Linked DNA regions of Homo sapiens: regions 1, 2, 3 and 5 are each linked to region 4. The links are contacts of gene promoters, found by promoter capture Hi-C in blood cells and fetal thymus (Javierre and others, 2016). All regions are on one chromosome and are shown on one strand. The core of a region is centred on a gene start or on the middle of the fragment in contact, and the rest is flanking DNA. Distances in the headings are between cores, read along the strand shown.

What was found. The method cuts DNA at HindIII sites, captures the fragments that hold promoters and counts their contacts. A CHiCAGO score of 5 or more calls a contact.
Region 1: a fragment that was not itself captured here is called in contact with the fragment with the promoter of GCM1 in region 4 in 4 of 17 cell types (M2 macrophages, activated CD4 T cells, M1 macrophages and 1 more); the score reaches 6.0 in M2 macrophages.
Region 2: a fragment that was not itself captured here is called in contact with the fragment with the promoter of GCM1 in region 4 in 3 of 17 cell types (M0 macrophages, naive B cells and activated CD4 T cells); the score reaches 10.7 in M0 macrophages.
Region 3: a fragment that was not itself captured here is called in contact with the fragment with the promoter of GCM1 in region 4 in 3 of 17 cell types (total B cells, M0 macrophages and M1 macrophages); the score reaches 9.1 in total B cells.
Region 5: a contact is called between a fragment that was not itself captured here and the fragment with the promoter of GCM1 in region 4, in 2 of 17 cell types (M0 macrophages and M2 macrophages). The highest score is 6.4, in M0 macrophages.

What each region holds. Positions count from the first base shown.
Region 1 is chr6:53,674,581-53,677,280 of GRCh38, forward strand. No RefSeq gene overlaps it. Among named protein-coding and RNA genes, the nearest start is that of KLHL31, 10 kb to the left of the region's middle. The HindIII fragment of the contact is 3,890 bases long and covers 1-2,700 here.
Region 2 is chr6:53,733,206-53,735,905 of GRCh38, forward strand. All of the region lies in intron 1 of LOC124901334 (a long non-coding RNA gene), which reads left to right. Among named protein-coding and RNA genes, the nearest start is that of LRRC1, 60 kb to the right of the region's middle. RefSeq lists an enhancer at 998-2,197. The HindIII fragment of the contact is 5,249 bases long and covers 1-2,700 here.
Region 3 is chr6:53,695,581-53,698,280 of GRCh38, forward strand. No RefSeq gene overlaps it. Among named protein-coding and RNA genes, the nearest start is that of KLHL31, 31 kb to the left of the region's middle. The HindIII fragment of the contact is 2,119 bases long and covers 317-2,435 here.
Region 4 is chr6:53,147,583-53,150,282 of GRCh38, forward strand. It overlaps GCM1 (glial cells missing transcription factor 1), which reads right to left and starts at 1,259. Exons shown (of 6, transcript NM_003643.4): 1 at 1,172-1,259. It also overlaps the pseudogene LOC124901513. The HindIII fragment of the contact is 12,096 bases long and covers 1-2,700 here.
Region 5 is chr6:53,714,504-53,717,203 of GRCh38, forward strand. No RefSeq gene overlaps it. Among named protein-coding and RNA genes, the nearest start is that of KLHL31, 50 kb to the left of the region's middle. The HindIII fragment of the contact is 4,083 bases long and covers 1-2,700 here.

The DNA of each region.
Region 1 (2,700 bases), core at 10-2,509, 530 kb after region 4:
CCCTGAGTGATTTTACTTCTTCTTGCCTGGTCATGAAGGCAACTGAGTTTGCCATGAAGGGCTTCCCATCAGGGCACATTTTCTAATTGTCATACCATTTTGAAATTAGAAGCACCTTTATAAAAGTGACTTCCTTGGGTAGGAGACTGGACTAGAATATCCTCAGCAAGCAGCCACCTAACCACTTCTGGTTTTGCAATGACAGGGAGTTCTCTGCTCCACCAAGAAGATCTTCTTGCCTTTTTTTTCTTTCTAGAATTAATAACTTGTATTTATGTAAAATCAGTGTCTCCTAAAGTATGTTCTTAGAACGCTTTGTTCTAAGCTATGTTAAAATTGATAATAAATTTTTTAAAGAATCCAGCAGTCAGATATATATATATATATATATGTATGTATATATGTGTGTATATATATTTATATTTATCAGAACAGATAAATTACTACTTTTTTAGTGAAAGACTTCCCAGAGCCTTTAGGTGCTATTCTGCATTGTTGATCTCTAAGCCAAGGATAAATTCTCAGTCTTTTTTCACATATATTTGATCCTAAAACTTAATTTTATGGGACTGTCATGTGGCCCAAGTATTCTACAGAATAATCTTGGAAAATGCATATAGGAATTCTTAGTTTTGTCTTAATTATTCATCAAAGTCAGTCATAAGCAAAGTAAAGCAATTTGCCCAAGAATACAGGAATTGTGGCTGTTATGAAATGGGGTTGGAATTCCAGAATACTGTCTCCTAGCAGGATTCAGTGGAGTGTTTCATAGAGTATAATGCACTGATCACTAAATTTAGGGAAATATCCAGGGATAAATACACTTGGTTAAATCCAAAATTGTGGAGGAAGAAAGCATTGGTATCCTTAAAAGAAGAATACCAATGTTAAGATAGAATCAATGATAATAAAAATACATAGTAATCATAAAAAATGGGAGACCATAAAGAGATTAAGGGAGTAATTATTGGGGTTTAGCCTTATTTTCATAAAGAGCCTTTCACATTACTTCCCTCAATGTTCACATTTTACATAAAGTATAGTATGTTATCAGCGTATCCTTTATAAAAACAAGCCATATGATGATTTTGGTCTAATTTCCAGCTCCTTGAAAATTAAGTCCCAATTAATGAGCGATTGAATAGAACAAAACAAAATTTTACAATATCATCATTAAATTATCATTATTAAAAATCAGCAGTCTAGTTAATGATGTATTCTTTTGTATTCAAAGTTTAGTGTTAATCCCAAAAGCAATGGCAACAAAAGCCAAAATTGACAAATGGGATCTAATTAAACTAAAGACCTGCACAGCAAAAGAAACTATCATCATAGTGAACAGGCAACCTACAGAATGGGAGAAAATTTTTACAATCTATCCATCTGACAAAGGGCTAATATCCAGAATCCACAAAGAACTTAAAAAATTTACTAGAAAACAACAAACAACTCCGTCAAAAACTGGGCAAAGGATATGAACAGACACTTCTCAAAAGAAGACATTTATGCAACCAACAAACATATGAAAAAAAGCTCATCATCACTGGTCATTAGAGAAATGCAAATCAAAACCACAATGAGATACCATCTCATGCCAGTTAGAATGGCAATCATTAAAAAGTCAGGAAACAACAGATGCAGGAGAAGATGTAGAAAAATAGGAATGCTTTTACACTGTTGGTGGGAGCGTAAATTAGTTCAACCATTGTGGAAGACAGTGTGGCAATTCCTCAAGGATCTAGAACTAGAAATACCATTTGACCTAGCAATCCCATTACTGGGTATATACCCAAAGGATTATAAATCATTCTAATATAAAGACACATGCACATGTATGTTTATTGTGGCACTATTCACAATAGTAAAAACTTGGAGCCCAAATGTCCATCAGTGATAGACTGGATAAAGAAAATGTGGCACATATACACCATGGAATACTGTGAAGTCATAAAAAAGGATGAGTTCATGTCCTTTGCAGGGACATGGATGAAGCTGGAAGCCATCATTCTCAGCAAACTCTCACAAGAACAGAAAACCTAACACTGCATGTTCTCACTCATAAGTAGGAGTTGAACAATGAAAACACATGGACACAGGGAGAGGAACATCACACACCGGGGCCTGTCGGGTTGAGGGGCTAGTGGAGGGACAGTATTAGGAGAAATGCCCAATGTAGGTGACGGGTTGATGGGTGCAGCAAACCACCACGGCATGTGTATACCTATGTAACAAAACTGCACGTTCTGCACAGAACTTAAAGTATACGAAAAAAAAATAAAAAAAAGTTTAGTGTTAGCCTATATGTATGTATGTATGTATGTATGTATGTTTTGAGGCCATGTCAAGAAAAATGGAATTATTAATACCATAATTCTTAATAATTATTACTGTAGTTACTAATAATTGCTGCTATCAGGTTAGGAATACAATACAACCATGGTGGAGAAAGTTTGGAAGCTAAAAAATATATTTGATGAAATTCTACCTCCATATCACAGGAATTATCAACATTTGCATTTATTTCCTGCCAATGTTTCTTTATGACCATTGTGTTTTTTAATGGTTATGAATGTATTATACTTATAATTTTATAGTGGTAAAATATCCATATCACAAATTTATCATTTTAACCATTTTTAGTATACAGTTCAATGGCATTAAGTACATACCCACTGTGCAACCATCCTCACCATCCATCCC
Region 2 (2,700 bases), core at 129-2,628, 590 kb after region 4:
CTATCTACCTCCCAAAGAATAGAAAGACTTTAGAACACTCTAAGCCAATAATCTCTTCCATTTTGTTTTAATTCCATCCTATTGTATAATCACAAAATCAATCACTATCATGATGTTGCTGCTTATAATCAAGATCTATTTAGATTTATTTACATTTTACTAATATCCTTGCCTACTATACCTTTCTGCATCTCACTCCTTCCTTTTTTTTTTTTGAGAAAGAGTCTCACTCTGTCACCCAAGCTGGAGTGCAGTGGCACGATCTCGGCTCACTGCAACCTCCACCTCCCGGGTTCAAGCAATTCTTCTGCCTCAGCCTCCCGAGTAGCTGGGACTACAGACGCGCACCACCACGCCCTGCTAATTTTTGTATTTACTTTAGTAGAGATGGGGTTTCACCATATTTGTCAGTCTGGTCTCAAACTCCTGACCTTGTGATCTGCCTGCCTTGGCCTCCCAAAGTGCTGGGATTACAGGCGTGAGCCACCACGCCCGGTTTCACTCCTTCCTTCTGAGTTCAACTTTGTTTTTCCTGAATTGCATCCACTAGTAGGGTCCTTTAGGGGTGTACTCTCAATTATTATTATTTTAATGATGGTTTAGTTGGACTAGAACTTTAGTCAAGATCTATTTAGATTTATTTACATTTTACTAATTTCCTTGCCTACTCTACCTTTCTGCATCTCACTCCTTCCTTCTGAGGTCAGCCTTGTTCTTCCTGAATTGCATCTACTAGTAGGGTCCTTTAGGGGTGCACTCTCAATTGTTATTATTATTTAATGATGGTTTAGTTGGGCATAGAACTTTAGTTTGATAACTATGCATCTCAAAGATATTAGTACACTTACAGTGTTGCTTATATCAATGTAATTATTGTTCATTTTGGTTAACTGACTTTTTGCTTATGAAGATCTTTGTCTTTGACATTTTGTTGTTTCATTACATTTTGTTTTGTTGTTGACACTAGGAATGAACTTATTTTTATTTTTCTTGATCAGGACTTTTTAAACTTTGTGAATCAGACAATTTATGTTTCAAAAATTTTAGACAATTTAGTCATTGCATCTTCAAATTTTGCCTCTTCCTCATTTTTTCCATGTTTTCCTTCTGGAACTTTTACTGGACATCTTTTCATTTTATCCTCTACATCTCTCCCTTTTTATTCATGTTTTTTGTCTCAATCTCTTTGGAATTCATGCTCAGAGCTATCTTCCAGTTTGCTAATGCTTACTCCAGTTGCATATTCCAACTAATGCTATTCCAGCTAATGTTATCTTCCAGCTTCCTTTGCTCTTTCTAATGCGTCAATTAAGTTTTCAGCTTCAATGAATATACTTTTCTTTTCTAAGCACTGTGTTTGTTTATTCCGTCAACTTTGCAGTTGCATTTTTCTCCTTTTTTTTTTTATTGTGTTACGTCTTTAATCATTCTAAAGATACCTGTTTTATTGCCTATGTCTGACTCACCGGAAATTCCTAGGTATCCAGTCATGCTGTTTGTGGTATCTGCTGCCTCTTGCTCCTGGTAGCTTGAGTGTTTCATAAATATAGATTGCGAATTTATCAACACTGAGCCTTTAACTGTGAGGATCCTGTGAGGCCTGGATCGAAGGTGTGATTCTGCAGCAAAGTTTTACAACTGCCTCCGTCGAATGCCCCATGGGTAGAAAACCAGGCTTCATTTTTACATGAATTGCTTGATTGAGAGTTCTTGAGCTATAAAAGATAAGCCCTGAATCCACGTGGGGGCAGGTCTTGATCAGGAACACTCAGGGCAGACTTTCTTTTTCCTCACTCAGAACCCAGACTGAAATAAACAAAATACCTTGTCATCTCCCTGTCAGTGGGTGGATTTATTTAAGGACCTCTCTATTACTGAAAATAGAGTCCTTCAAGAGTCCCCTACTGGTGTTTCAGTTCCAGCTCCCAGCCTTATATATGTGTGGAGCCAGGACCTCATCTGCCATCTCCACGCATGCATTGGCTCTGAGCTAGTGCGATGGCGCCCCCTTCCTGTCTCCCACTTCCCTCCCAGGACAACCGCAGGCTTCCTGTCTCTGTACTGCTCTGGTTTGTGACCTGTTTCAATTTTAGCTCCTGAACATTTCTTGTACTATCTTATAAAGTCAGTGCTTTTAAAAGTATGTTTTGTATATTTTTTTCCAACATTTCTAGATGTTTTATAATGGAGGCTCTACATTTTTCTATATTGTTAGAAATGTAAACTCTTATATATACTTTTACGAATAGATCCCAAAGAAGTTTTTAACTTGGTGAAATCATCTTGTTATGTGAAAATGTGGCCATCATAGCTGGCTAACATGCTAAAGAGGATTAGCCTTGGTGAACATGCTACTAACTCAAAAAGTTATAATAGGGTGCTTGAGATAATACAGGGGAAAGGTAATGCCTTTTGAGGGACTAGATAGTCAAGCAGAATATCGTAAACTGAAGGAATCTTGGAGATTAATGTATTCATTCATTCATTCATTCATTCATTCATTCATCAGTTACCTGATGCATGCCTATGACCCAGAAACTGTTGGGTAACATGCAGTTTCTTCTCATCAAGATCATCTTCTGTAGCACACGGTGAATAATAAACAGATGATTAAGTAACATAGTTATAGACGGTGATAAAAGCTGCACACTTTTAAGATGAAGACTGGGAGGCATCAGCCTCCATGAAGAAGTAACAGTT
Region 3 (2,700 bases), core at 126-2,625, 550 kb after region 4:
TCTAAATTCTACTAAAAGGAATCACGGTTCCTTGGAGAAATGGCTGATTCCAGAGCCATTCTGGAATCCAGAGCTGTATTTCAGGAAAATATAGGTGTAAATAACCACTTTTATATATTCAGTTTTTTTTTTTTTGAGATCTCCCACCACGAGAATGCTCTTGTACCAGAACAGCCTGTGCTCTATGTGTTTTGCTCTGTACCTCCAGCTTAGCACACAGTACGTTCTCAGTACAAATATTTGTTAAGTGAATAAATGAATGAATGAATGATATGTTTACTTTCATGTTTTATATGCTTACTTTTAAAACACAGAAAGCTTCAGAAAACTTTTGCCTTAAGTCATTGTGAATTAATATCTCCATGCTTAATATTTTAGCAGAAATTTTATTTTCAGCCAATTTATTACTATGACCCAGACATTGAACCTGAATAAGTCTCTATTGAGTATGTTGAGGGAATAGGAGAGGTACACAAGGCAAGATGTTTTCCTTTCCTTATAAAAGCATTGGGAAATTCTCTAAAATTTAATTTTAGTGGTAAGTTAAAGAATAGCTTAATTTAATTTTTCTATTACTCAGTTATCAGTCTGGGTCAAGAGATTTCCATGGAATTTTTTACATGCTCAACTCTTGCATATTATTCAGAAATCTTTTGCTTTTCTTTGAAAGTCAACTGTCCATTGAATATGGAAGTGTACTCAGACAACAGACAAGTAGAGAAACTGAACCGAAGGAGCCAAACACAGAAACTCTCTTCTTCCTCCCTGCATTCCCTGTCTGGGTAATGGCACCAGCATCCGTCTGTCACCCAAGACAGAAAACTACTGGTTGTCATAGGATCCTCTCTCTTCACAGACCTCGTGCCTCCCACTAAATACATAATACACAATGAAGCCTGACATCTTATCATTCTTACCTCCTAAGTACCTCTTATCTCTGTCCAGGGCCAGCTTCATGGGCATCCAACCTGTGCACTTGGACAGGGCCTCTCTCTCAGCAAGGTTACATACTTGGGGTTTAATGCTCTGCAGTTATCTTGAAATTCTTAATAATGTTTACTTCACATTTCTGCTTTGTAAGTCAAGTTCAATGGGGCAATGGAGCATGTGCCAGGGGCTAAGAGCCTAAATTCATGCATGATCCCACCTCCCGCTGTCTTCAGTGGATGAGTTTGGGGCTGTTCCCTCCTGTGCCTCCTAGTGCCCTGCCTGCCCAGCCTTCACCCTCCTGCTCAGGGCCAGATGGGTCAGGCACAAGCTGTGGCTGCTGTCCCTGTCCCAGACTAGCAGATCTAGGCTAGCAGGTCCATGGGGGGCTGCTGGAAGTTGTCTCTTGGTGGGAACACGCTCCCCTCCTACCCCATCCAGTACCCAGCCCATACTGACACAGAGGTTGAAGATCCTTGGGAGTTACCTGTCTGCCAGGGTTTGAGGCTCTAGGCTAGTGGGAAGGGAGCCACCTGGTTTGACTTCTCCAGATCCCACCCCTGATGGAGGTAACACATTGACTCAGTGGCTGGTGGGAGGGGGAGCCCAGAAGCCAACTGACAGAGCAAACGCACTCATGCTACACATTGTGGGATGAGGCCCCTGGGCAGCTGCGGGAATCTGCACTGGCCCCACTAGTGTTGTGGTGCCCAGGAGTGCTCTCTCAGCCAGCTCTGTGCCTTGGGACCCTCTTCTCTTTCTTCCAGCCTTCCTGAATCTGACCTACAGTTGTCTCTCTGGCCAGCTCCAGGCACCCACCAGGATAAGACACAAAATACGAATTGTGTGATTTTGGTGATTCTACACACGAGTCGAATGCTCATAATTGTATTTAAAACTGGCATTTGCACAGTTTAAATTGCACGTTGCATGCTGCCCATCTGAGAAGACAATTCAGGTAAGATCACCTGAGCTGAGACGTGAAGGGTGAGCTCCTAATGTGGAGCCAGTGCCATGGAGTGAGCACTTAAGGCAGAGAAAGGAGCAGTGCTGGGACCCAGCTTCAGGAGAGCGTGGAACGCACAGGCAGTGAGAAAAATCTTCTGTGGGTGGGCACAGGAGTCACTGGAAAATAATAGGGCTGGAGCAGGGCAGAAGCTAGATCTTACAAGGACTTTCTAGGCTGGAGGGCAGGTCACTAAAATGGTATTATGTAGTTTACACACGGCAGAGAAGACATTAGGAGACTTTGCATTTTTAAAGATTCCTTTTGCAAACTGGAGACTGTGTTGTGGTGGAAGGGTGCTAAGATGGGAGGCAGAGAGATGGTAAGGAGGCTATTGAGCCTGTCCTGGAGGTAGATTTCAGCCTGAACTGTGGAAGTAGCAGTGAGGATGGAGAGGAAGAGGCAGAGACAGGACCATCTTCATAATCTGTGGGGCCCAGAGCAAAATGAGAATGCAGGGCCCATTGTTCAAAGGAAAAAGTGCCATGAAAGGTTCAGATAAAGCTTATCCTTTCTTCCATGATCTCTCTCTTCTTGTCATGGTGTTTTTATGTTATTTTATACCTTTCTCAGTAAAGAAAAATGAAATCCTACATTATTAGCATGAATTTTACCCCTCAGCATGAATTTTATCCTTCCACCATCAAGCAGAATTTAAGCACACTTCCCACTGGTAAAATTAAAAGCATTTGGACAATACCAGCCAGGGTGAGAGTATCAGAAACCAGTGCTCCTATAGAAAGCTGAGGCACACCTTTCTGGAGGAC
Region 4 (2,700 bases), core at 9-2,508:
CACACCCAGCTAATTTTTGTATTTTCAGTAGAGATGGGGTTTCACCATGTTGACCAGGCCGGTCTTGAACTCCTTTCCTCAGGTGATCCATACGTCTCTGTCTCCCAAAGTGCTGGGATTACAGGCATGAGCCACTGTGCCCGGCCTGTTCTTTAGTTATTTAGTGTTATATAATCCTAATACTTGTCAATCACTGAACTCTACCAAGGGAAAGTGTATGTATATAAAAGACCGTTGACCTGAACATAAGAATGAAGTTCCTTTTTTCTTTTTTGTGTGTGCTCTAGATGTCCAGAGAAATTTCTCTAGTAACAAACTATAGAAATGATCCCTGAAAGTATAGTCTTTATAAATAAAGTTCTTGACCATTAAATGACAAGCTAATCAGAGTCTCTTCCTGTCTGTTCCACATACCCATACTGAGCTACAACCTAGTGGTTGCAGAGCACGAAGTTTCTGTTCCCCAACTGAATGTTGATTTTCAAGACTAAATCCTCATGGATTTTAAGTAAAATTCTATGTTTAGGAAAGAAACATTGTGTTACTGAAGAAATGATGCCGCAAATTGACTCTAATTCAAAGGACTTAAATAACAGGTATAGAAGATGCAGATACCAAGCAGCAGTTCCGTGTACTTACCCTGAACAGTAACGATATTGTCTCTGATGGTGCAAATTTTGTTATAACTAATTGGAATAGATCTACTTTTTAAAAACCTTGGCAAATAAGATTCATATTTTCAAAAATCAAAAACATTGTTATAAAGCCTAGGCAATATAGACATAATTATTTTGTTTTTAAATTAAGGGAAGAATAATAAAGAAAATTTTATTACAGAACAACTATGTTACATTTTAGATTTTTCTCTCGATATTAACATTTGCTAAGCGAATGAGCATTAATTTAATATTTCCCTAAAAGTTAAGAACAAAACATAGAAAAGAAGAAAAAACCATTTTACAGCCCTTAAGTAAACTCTGTTTTCCTCTTCTAGGATTGAAAAACTACACTTGTCAAGACTCCTTTTTTTAAAGCAACTTGCGCAAAGTATATTCAATTTTCATCATTTCTACAGAAAAATGAACTAGAACAAATGAAACCCTGTAGGAATAGAGTGGTCGTTGCCACATCCCTTACATTTGCCTCTCCACGGGATTTCTGGCTTTCTTACCTTCTAACTTCTTACGGAGAAGCAGACAGCACTGTGTCGTGAAAATCTTACTGCTGGTTCAAGTCCCAGCAGGCTCTGGTCATTTTCTGAGCAGACGCTGTTCCCTATTCCAGGTCAGGGTACACTATGCTAATGAGTTCTGGCAATGGTCCAATCAAAATCTAGATGCTCTAGGCTCTGGATAGGTAAGAGCAGCCTGGGAGTCACTTAACCAGCCTGATTCTTCCCAGAATGCCAGCAATGTGATGAATATTCTATGATGTGTCTCTGAACTTCCCCCTCCCTTTATGTTATGAGGACATTTGAACTAAAATGGACATTGAAAAGAACCTCATAAGGAAGTACAGATGTTTTTCTTCTTGTGATGTTACAGGTTGGGCCCCAGGCAGACGATTCACAGTAGGTCCTAATTCTCCCACTATTTACCCGGCAGGTAATAGTTCTCTCTCATGTGTGCAAGAGAGAGAAGACAGACAGACAGAGATAGAGAGATATTATGGTGAGGAAATTTACTGGAATAGACAGTGGATAGCCAACATCCTCTATACCAGAAATACTGAAATGCTATCTTAACCCTAGCAATAATGTCCCACTAATTCTAAGTGTTCTGATCCCCTAAAAATATACAATTCTTGGCCGGGCGTGGTGGCTCACACCTGTAATCCTAGCACTTTGGGAGGCCGATGTGGGCGGATCACAAGGTTGGGAGTTCAAAACCAGCCTGGCCAAGATGGTGAAACCCCGTCTCTACTAGAAATACAAAAATTAGCCAGGTGTGGTGGCGAGCGCCTGTAATCCCAGCTATTTGGGAGACTGAGGCAGAGAATTGCTTGAACCCGGGAAGCGGAGGTTGCGTGAGCTGAGATTGCGTCACTGCAGTCAAGCCTGGGTGACAGAGCGAGGCTCCATCTCAAAAAAACAAAAACAAAACAAAACAAAACAACAAAAAAAAACGAACAAACAAAAACCAATTATTTCTTCTAGAGATACCCTCAGTGCTATTCTTCCTTTTAGAGACATCCGCAGTACAGCCTAAATCAGTTCAGTTCATATGTTTTGTTCTAGGTAGTCTGCCAGGCCTTGGCAACACAAGAGAGAATGAAAGCCATTAAGAAGTTCATTCTAGTAGAAAAGATGATTAAAGCTACTAAATAAGGCCGATTTAATTTGATGTATAGAATAAAAGTAATATAAATGAGAAGGCTATTAAGCTGGAGGGAGGAGAACCAAAGGAAACCCACCAAAATAATGCTCGATGAGCCTTTTGAAGGACAAATAGATATTTATCAAGGCGTGAAGGACTGGAAGAGGGTGTTTCGGGGAGTGACAATATCCTGGACAACATGACGAGGGATCAGTACCTGTCAGGAAGGTCCAGACTTTCAAGGATGAGGCTTAGGAGGCAGAGATGAGAAGGCGAGAAGGCAAAAGGCTTGGAAAGCCTCATAGTTGCATTCGGCGGCCCCTAATAGATTTCTCATTCGTCTTTCAGTTCATGAACAAATTCCTTTCCTGCCTGAAGTTTAAGA
Region 5 (2,700 bases), core at 115-2,614, 570 kb after region 4:
AAATATTTTCTACTTTTCCCCTCCTTTAATCTAGTTAGCTACCACTCGTCCTTCAGGACTCTGATAAAATGTCCCTTTCCTGGAAAGCATAGTGAAAATTTGTTAGTTTCTGTGTTTGTTTGCTTTCCTGCCCAACATCTGACCTCCACGTCCTACTTAAGGGGACTCTTATAAATTATATCCTTTGACTGATAAGGTTTGAAACTTAATATTCAGAATAGCTATTAAAAGGTATTCAACATATGCAATAGGACCACATACAAGTAAAACGTACTTTTCTTATGTATTTCAGTGAAATGTCTCGTTACTTAATAAGTAATAAGAAAACATAGTATTTTTCTTATGTGAAGTATTTTATCTTCACATCTTCTAAATTCCAATATAAATTCAGTTGAAGTACTTCCACAAACACCTTTATAAAGCTGCATGGCCACTTTTAAGAAAATAGATAAAAAAGTCTGTCTTCCTTGACAGGTGCAAAGGGTGAAAGGCACCCCGTCCATAAGAGTGAGCTAGGGTCATATTGTTTCTCAGTGGTGAAGTACTGTAGTCAACTCTTTCTCTGAACTTCAAAGCAAGCTGACTTTGTCTTTAACCACATATGGGTTTGGCTCAAGGACAAAGAAGATCTTTGTTTATGGGACTCTGGGAGCATTCAGTAATTTTTCAGGTGGAGGGTGACCTGCAGAATTGTTCATTTAAATGACATGCCTTATCAGAAGCCAGAAAGAAGACTTCCTCATGAAATGCTCTTCAACCTCTGCACTTTCCTAAGATGTTTATTGAAAAGGCTCTTTGTAGAAAAATAGTTTGAGAGTGACTTCTAAAAGGTAGTTTTTAAAGTAATAAATATTGATTTTTTTAATCCAAAGAGGTATAAAAACAAGCCAAAACATGGACCACGATCCCCCCATCCACTTAACCCACTTATAAATTTAATCTTTACAGAACTGTACAAAACCAATAGGATTAGCTGCAACCTCATTCCCTTCTTATCCCCAACATTCCATTATAAAAAAGCAAATATCCTAAAATACTATCTATTTATAAAGTACATATTTTTGTACAAAAGTAATTATGCTATCCAGCACTTTGCTATTTGTGCTTAATATATACAAAAAGGAATTTAACCCTGGGTAGTTCTAACTGTATGAATCATTGCTTTACAATAAAACAGAATAAAAACTATAGGGCAGTTAGAATGATGCTTTTAGCCCAGCCTAAAAAACTCAGAGGGATGTAGCATCATCAGATAACTTTTTGGACTACCTTTGTGACCAAAAAAAAAAGGCTTTGGCTACTGTCACGGATCAGGCTACAGGTTTTACAGGTAGACTTGAATTCAAGCTGTAGAATTGACAAGTTAGGTTGTCCTTGGGCAAATAACCTCCTAACCCCAAATGTCCTTATCTAAACAGTGGAGCAAACAACACTTAGATTACAGGGTTGTTGTAAGCAATTTTTTGTTTGTTTCTTTGTTTTTTTGTTTTGAGACTGAGTCTCACTCTGTCACCCAGGCTGGAGTGCAGTGGTGAGATCTCAGCTTACTGCAACCTCTGCCTCCTGGGTTTAAGCAATTCTTGTGCATCAGTCATCTAAGTAGCTGGAATTACAGGTGTGCACTATCACATCTGGCCTTTTTTTTTTTTTTTTTTTGTATTTTTAGCAGAGACAGGATTTCACCATGCTGGCCAGGCTGGTCTCAAACTCCTGACCTCAAGTGAGCCACCCACCTTAGCCTCCCAAAGTGCTGGGATTACAGGAGTGAGCCACCATGCCTAGCCCTATTGTGAGCAATAATGAAATAATATATATAAAGCACTTAGCACTGTGGTCACATAGGAATCCTGCAGAAATTATAATTTTTTTAAAACTTTTTTTAAAAAGGTTGGTAAATAGGTAGCCTCCAAGTTTTCGTGCTTGCCTTAATTCCATCTTCTGGGAGAAGCCTGTAGGTCTTCTGTAAAAGGGAGTCCTTTCAGGCCCCGCTTCATGGTTTAGTGTCCAAGGTAATGTCTTGGTCCACCAGACAGCGCTTTCCTAGCCTGTGCTCTTCAGTCATGACTAAATCTTCTTCATTTGCATTGAAATCTTCTCTTTTATTTTTACATTTTCTACAAGAAGCAATTCCTCTTGTTTGGCAGAACATTGGCTGCACTAATTAGGATGACTTCAACGAAGGGCAAATCACAGAGAGCAACTCGAATAGGGTGTCTACTTGGGCATGGTTGTAGTTCATATTGACCGGAATACATGACCCAAAGCAGGTTTGGAACAGAGAGCACAGAAGCAAAGCGAAAAGATGGAGAGTTTCGTTTTAGTGAGTTCAATGCATCTGTGAGGAAATGTCCAAAAATGCGTTGGACTGTTGGTCATCAGCCTATGAGAAGGACTTGGGGGATTGGGGATACAAATTTAGAAGTCATCAATGCACAGGAGATTGGACCTGGGAAAAGACACCTGGAGAACTATTTTAGGCACAAAAAGATAAAGGAGAGCCTGCAAAGGAGCCTGGGAAGAGGTGGTCAGAGGTAGGAGGAAGGTGAAAAGTTTAGTTTTCAGGAACCAGTAGAGGAGGGTTTTAGGAATGAAGACTGGTTGACCATGTCCAGTGCTGCAAAGAGATCAGGTAAGTAAAGAACTGAAAGATTTCAGATTTCCATCACTCCACAAAGGTTCCTCATATTGGATTGTGATAAT